Regions from separate parts of the Homo sapiens genome. Here region 1 is linked to region 2. Evidence: promoter capture Hi-C in 16 types of primary human blood cells and fetal thymus (Javierre and others, 2016). All regions are on one chromosome and are shown on one strand. Each heading gives the region's core, a stretch centred on a gene start or on the middle of the fragment in contact. The rest is flanking DNA. Distances are from core to core; before and after follow the strand shown.

Region 1 (3,183 bases), core at 203-2,702, 310 kb after region 2:
TAATCACCTTCCAAAGGCCCCATCTCCTAATGCTACCACTATGGAGATTAAGATTTCAACACATGAATTTGAGGGAGACATACTCAGTCCATTGCAAGATGTCACCATTAGAGAAATCCAGTTGAAGGTTCACAGAACTCCGTACTCTTTTTGCTACCTCTTGTGAGTTTATAATTACGCCAAAACTAAAAAGCTTTCTTAAAAATATATATACAAATTCTCAAGTAAAATATAGTAAACTTGTTACTTTTTCAGGTATTTGATGCCTTTATCTGTAAATTCTTTCAAAGGAAATATGGCATGAACAAATATTGAGACAGGGATGTTTCACCAACTCTCAACTCCCCTTATTCAAGGGTTGGATCATAATAACTACATCTAAGTAATCCAGAAATTATCATTTTACTGAAAACCACGAAGACTATGTAGATGGAGAGAGATGAAAGAAGTACTATTTTTAAATCTGCAGCTTTATATCAATATACATAAATACATACCAGATAACCATATTTTATAAGAATACATATATATTCAAGGGTATATGTCAAATTTTAAAAAGAAAGGGGATTTGGCGTGGTCCTATCATTATGAAAGGGGATTCGGCGTGTTCCTGTCCTTATTTTACTCATCATGTCATCCCCTATCGTCTACCAGGCGTCCAGGCGCTGAGGACCAACCTTCTCTTCCTCCTCTGGCTAAGAAAACAATCAGCTTTCCCAGAGCCACCGCTGTCTGGACGCTAGATGGCGCCGCTGAGCTCCCCCCACCCCCCGCCTTTCCCCCACCCCCCCGCCTCCTCCCCACCACCCCGCCCACACCTGCGGTTCCTGCAGAGGGGTTGCTCAGGTGACCGGGCCGTTTGGACCACTTGGTTCAAATTCAGGATCCAGGTAGATGCAGCTGGGGAAAGCAGGGAGGAATGGGAGGCTACAGACAGAATGACCACATGCGTGCCTTCCTGCAGGGCTTGTCTTCTCCAAAGCCCCTGGTCAGTCACATGTTTTACTTGGCTCCCTTCCTTCTTCCTCGCCTTCTCCAGACCCTCTAAGCATGTGCCTTTGTCTCTTCCCAAACCTCCTGAGTCGCCTGAGGCCCTCTGGTGGTTCAATTCTTTATTGGAAGAACAAGCAACATGTTTACCCCAAGGGTTTCCACGGAGAAATACAAACACGTCTATTATTGGCAAGAAAAGCAGCACTGATTTGTTGAAGAACTAGGGAATTGTTCTAATTCTGCAGATTAGTCTCTTCTTGTCTTTGGTTGAAGTAACACAACCATCTCCATAGAGGTTCCTAAGCATAGAGGAAGATTGTATTGTAACAATACAAGGCTGCCGTAACTATGTAATTGGCCATAATTGAAGACAAGAATGGTGGGAAGTATGGGTTTGCAATTACCTAATATTCCTGTCCTAACCCATTTCAGGAGATCTTGCTGCGAGGTGCATGTTACCCATATAACAGACCCTGGGAGTATACCCAGGAGCAGTGGTGCGGATCACAGAAGGGGCTTTAAGACGCCCCTGGTGTTCTATGGCCATTAGCTACCAGTAGGAGCAGCTGCACCCCTGGCTGACCACAGATGTGGCTGTCAAACACAGTGAGTTAACAAAGGACAGTGAAACAGGGGGACGTGCAAGTCAGAGGAGATGCCTGCTTCCTCCTAGATCCCCACCATTTTCCTGGCTTTCTACTCTATTCCCAAAAAGAAGACACACTGGGGTAGAGGGCTGAGGGGAATAATTCAGTCCACAGATGCAGTTTTCTCTCTTTTTGCTACCATGGTTCTGAATGAAGAGCTAATATTATACTATTCCCACCTGTGATGAGCCCCAGTCCTTTTGATTCTTTTTCTTCTTCATCATCCATCCAAACGTCCCCAAGTGGTAAACAGGCCAGCAAACCTGTTATCCTCTCTTCTGTCCCTTCCACACATGTTTTAGCTTTAGTGGAAGCTCACAGAATAACCCTCAATTATCTGTTGTGGTCTGTGGCATTACCTTCTTAAAGGAAAGCTGATGGGTTCTTTCAACAGGTTTGGGGTCCACTCCCAGCTAACAATTAGTGTGACCTTAGCCGAGCACAGTGTCTCACGCCTGTTATCCCAGCACTTTGGGAGGCCGAGGCGGGTGGATCACGAGGTCGGAGATCAAGACCATCCTGGCTAACATGGTGAAACCCCATCTCCACGAAAAATAGAAAAGAAAATTAGCTGGGCGTGGTGGCGGGCGCCTGTAGTCCCAGCAACTCATGAGGCTGAGGCAGGAGAATGGTGTGAATCAGGGAGGCTGAGCTTGCAGTGAGCCGACATCGCGCCACTGCAGTCCAGCCTGGGTGACAGAGCAAGACTCCATCTCAAAAAAAATTGTGTGACCTTGTTTTCCTTTACCATTGTTTCTAGTTGCCCAGGAATCTAGTGGGAAGATGTGGCTATGGTCTGGGGCAGGATATTTTGGGAAGCCTGGTGTCCAGGGATATTAGGCAAACAAACTTTTGCATTGCACTTAATATTTCAGAAACCCAGCTGAATAGCTCTTATTTTTATGGCACTAAGAAAGTAAATCTTAAATCTTTGCTCTTAACACCATTAAGACAAAATTATTATGAAAATTGGACAAAGTGCCTTATAGCAGCTGATATATTTAAAACATCAATGATTGTACCCTTAGCATTGTTTTATTTTTATTTTTTAAAATTATCTAAACATTGTTTCAAAGCTTGTGAAACTACTAAAAGACAAAGGATTGTAAATGTCAATGAAAGGAAAAGTAAAACAGCAAGTATTTTAGCATACGGGGGCAATCAAGTCATAAAGAAAAAGGGTTAGTAGCTCACTAGACAATAAATTATTATAAAGAAGAGCCAAGAAAAGTATTGCTTTGAAACTTTTTACTTTTAACCTTCAGCCTTACTGAAGAATTTGTTCACTATACTTTAAAAATTTATTATTCTGATCATATTTTCCTTGATTTAAGAGTAGTGTCTTCAACATTAGCTGATATACCTACTAATAGCATCCCACGTCCTACCATCATTTCTTACATCTGACATCTTCTGCTGTTGATCCATAGGTTAACAAAACAAAACAGAAACTACACACAGAAAGAAAAAGAAAGGGAAGAAAGAAAAAAGAAGGAAGAGAAAAAAGCAGAGACCACTTCCAGAATGATTGTATGAGGAGCTC
Region 2 (3,323 bases), core at 816-3,315:
CATATTTAACGTTGGGAGGAGCCTGAAGCATCTCTTTGGAATAATTAACAGGTGGACAAGTCTGAATTTTTAACCGTAATTAACTGGTGGCTGAGTCTGATTTTTACCATAGTTAACGGCAGGTTGTGCAATAACAGGTGCCGCAAACGGCATCTCAGGCTCCCATGCCTGCAGTTCACAAGGCTTAGGTGGGGGTGGCCATTCCGGAGCTTCCCCTGAGGGTGCAGTAGGTTGAACTGTCTCTTTCATATGTTTTTGGAGGTTAGCATACATAACCTCCTGATTCTCCCCCTTTTTTAACTGGAGCTAGATGTTGAGGTGATCAGGCCCAACCCCTTTAATGCCTGCATGATCTCGTTCCCATTCCTGATATTAATAACTTGTATACTGTATGTTTTGCCCCTTTTCTTGATTTATGTAGATAGAGGCTTATCAATTTTATTAATTATTTCCAAAGAATTCATGTTTGATTTTATTGGTTTTCTCTATTTTTTTTTTCTGTTTCAAGATTTCTTCCCTTTAGTATTTCCTTCATCCTCCTTACTTTAGGTTCAATTTGCTGTTCCTTTTCTAAATTTTTAATGTGGTATCACAAATTATTGTTTTCATTTCTGGATCTTTAATGTAGACATTTTTGTCTACACATTGCTTTATTGTTAAAGCATTAGATGAAACGTGGTGCTCACTGCAAATGTAGTCCCTAACAGAGAACTTTCCTACTGCAGTGATCCCTGTAACCTGAATAAAGATTCCCTAAGTAATGATCCAGTGCTTTAATAGTACTAAAAATAAATACTATATTTTGCATCAATTTCTGTAATTAAATAGAATAATATATACCTTCTAGCCAGGTTTAGGCTTCAGAAACAAAATATAATCCTAGTCTTTTAAGGTATCTCAGTTCAGAATCGCGGAGATGCTTTCTCATGCTGCCTGTTCTTTTGGACTTGCCTTCGTTTGCCTGTCAAACCAAGGGACCAAGTGGTCTTTGTTATTTAAGTCATGTTGCTCTGGAATGTAAATTATCCTTACTGTTGGTGCAAGATGTATTCCATTGCCTTGTTCTGCTTTTTAGTGTAGCCATCCTGTGCTTGTATACCCAGGGCCAATCACATTCTATCCTCAAAGAAATGTATGTCTTTCTCTTACAGTTCTCTTTAGAATTATTAGCAATTTTATAATTACTAAAGTGCTATGTAATTCTAAATAAGGTCTCAGCTGTGGGGTATAATGGTAAATTGAGACCCCTTTTACAATGGAAAAATAACTGGTTATAACGGTGAGCTGGGACCCCATTACAATACTCTCAAAGTTTCCATTTTAGTGGTAAGTAGTGTCAGATGTCAGTGTTTAGAATATTTCAGTGGTTCCAGGACCATCTCAGGAGGTGAATTTTGGGCCCATCCTAGTCAGTCCAGTGAAAGTCATTTACTCTCTTTTGCTTCTAGCAGATGACTCATGGACATACCCTGGAAATAAGGACACACTGTGGACTCAGAGGACATACCTGAGGTACTGGGAGAAAGGGGTATGGGGGCTTAGCTGGGAGGCCTGTTGTGCTGAGCAGGGGTTCAGGGGCTCAAGGGTCTTTCAGAATAACTGATAACTCTCTAGTTTTGGCCCAGAAGTTTCTTCCAGAATGTCACAGCATGACCCATGTTTTTTGTCTCACTGCAGAGCCTTTGCAAGGTTCAGTATGGTAGCCACCAGGCATACCAAGCTGAATATTCCTTCTTTCCTTCTGGGGAAAATGCCTGGTGCAAGTTGTTCTGCCTGACTTTGCCTTTTAGAATTCTGACAATGGAGTAGCTATTTAACTTTAAATAAATTGAAACAAAATAAAATTTAAAATTCAGAACTGCAATCACACTCGTCACATTTCAAGCGCTCAGTAGTCACGTGTGGCTAAGGGTCACCATCTTGGACAGCACAGAACAACCCCATCCCTGCAGAAAGTTCTATTAGAGCTGCTGGATGATCAGGTGGGCAGGTCCCTTGCACAAGTAAATCTGGACAGCTCCTCCCCTCACTTCCTCTCTTCTCCTGTTTCTCAACATCCTGGCTTAGTATTGTGTGCAAAATCAGAGAGGGGTGCAAGATCCTGATTTTTCAGGTAAGGGAATAGGGGTGTGTGTGGTGGGGGTCGGGACGAATGTGCGATTTTGGTGAGGAGGGACCTGTATCTTAAATCGTCTGGTAAACATGTTTTCAGACTATATTCTCGCTGGTTCCCGTTTCCTGGCTTTGCTAATTTTAGGCTGTGATCTGTTTTCAAGGCTGAGCCCTACAAATCAATGCCTCTTCCAGAGATTGCTGCTCAGAGGATACTTGTTTTACAAATAAATGTTTCCTCTCGCTGGTTGTGGAATTTATATAGAAACTTTGATTCTTCCAGGGATAAAGTTGGGTGAGCGGACAGAATTAGCTCTGGGGGAGCTGGTGGGAAGAGGAACATTGGGATGTGTAAGGGGCACAGCTCCATATGTGGCCCCACAAAGACTGCACCCAGGTCAGGATTGGAGGCTCTGCAGTCTGAGGTCTTGTTACAGGGTTAACTGTCTGCTCGGAGCTGCCCGTTAGGGAAACTGTCTCCTCAGGGACAGTCCTGGGTTTACTGGGCATTGAGCTCCCCTTTAGCGGGTAGGAGGAGGGAGATGCCACCTGGTGTGACTCTCTACAGTTCAGGAGAAGCTGGATGCTGATGGGTGCTTGTTCCTTAGGCAGAGAGAGGAGAATTCAGCCACCTGAAGTCAGCACCTACAGAAGCACAGTCTCCTGGCTTTGCCTCTGAATTATTAACAGCAGAGCAGCATTAAAGAGCCCACACACTAGAAGGAGGATATGAAGAAACACCCAGAGAATGTCACAAAAACCCAGAATGTCACAGTATTGTTTTCTTCTTGCTGGTGTCCTATCCTCTCTCCTAACACCAGCCACCAAAGCTGATTTTTAAAAAATGCCATGATTTCTCTTGTTTACAAGAAGCTGTTTCCTATACCCTATTCTTGAAGGATAAAGAAATAGTCATTCAAAAGAAATATCTGGCTTTTCACAGTGTTTCATATTTGTTGGCTTCCTATGAGGTGACTCTGTCTTTAACAACTACCATTTTCTGCCTGTTTTGTTCAAAGTCTGCTCCAATAAGAGTTCTTCAAATATCTTTCTCCATTGCAAAATGTTTGTAGGTAGCAATGAAATAAAACATTTAAAATTAATACCATGTTTCTATAACACTACATATTAATTAATAAAGGAATGGATTGTCATTTTCACAGATCAGATGTGGGCTGGACATAATGATCAATCAAAGGCAAGAAGCAGGG

The links. The method cuts DNA at HindIII sites, captures the fragments that hold promoters and counts their contacts. A CHiCAGO score of 5 or more calls a contact.
Region 1: a fragment that was not itself captured here is called in contact with the fragment with the promoter of GIMAP4 in region 2 in 4 of 17 cell types (total CD4 T cells, naive CD4 T cells, M0 macrophages and 1 more); the score reaches 6.1 in total CD4 T cells.

What each region holds. Positions count from the first base shown.
Region 1 is chr7:150,876,191-150,879,373 of GRCh38, forward strand. LOC105375567 (a long non-coding RNA gene) reads right to left here and starts at 940. Exons shown (of 5, transcript XR_928171.3): 1 at 819-940. The HindIII fragment of the contact is 2,523 bases long and covers 192-2,714 here.
Region 2 is chr7:150,565,325-150,568,647 of GRCh38, forward strand. It overlaps GIMAP4 (GTPase, IMAP family member 4), which reads left to right and starts at 2,066. Exons shown (of 3, transcript NM_018326.3): 1 at 2,066-2,113. The HindIII fragment of the contact is 6,433 bases long and covers 1-3,323 here.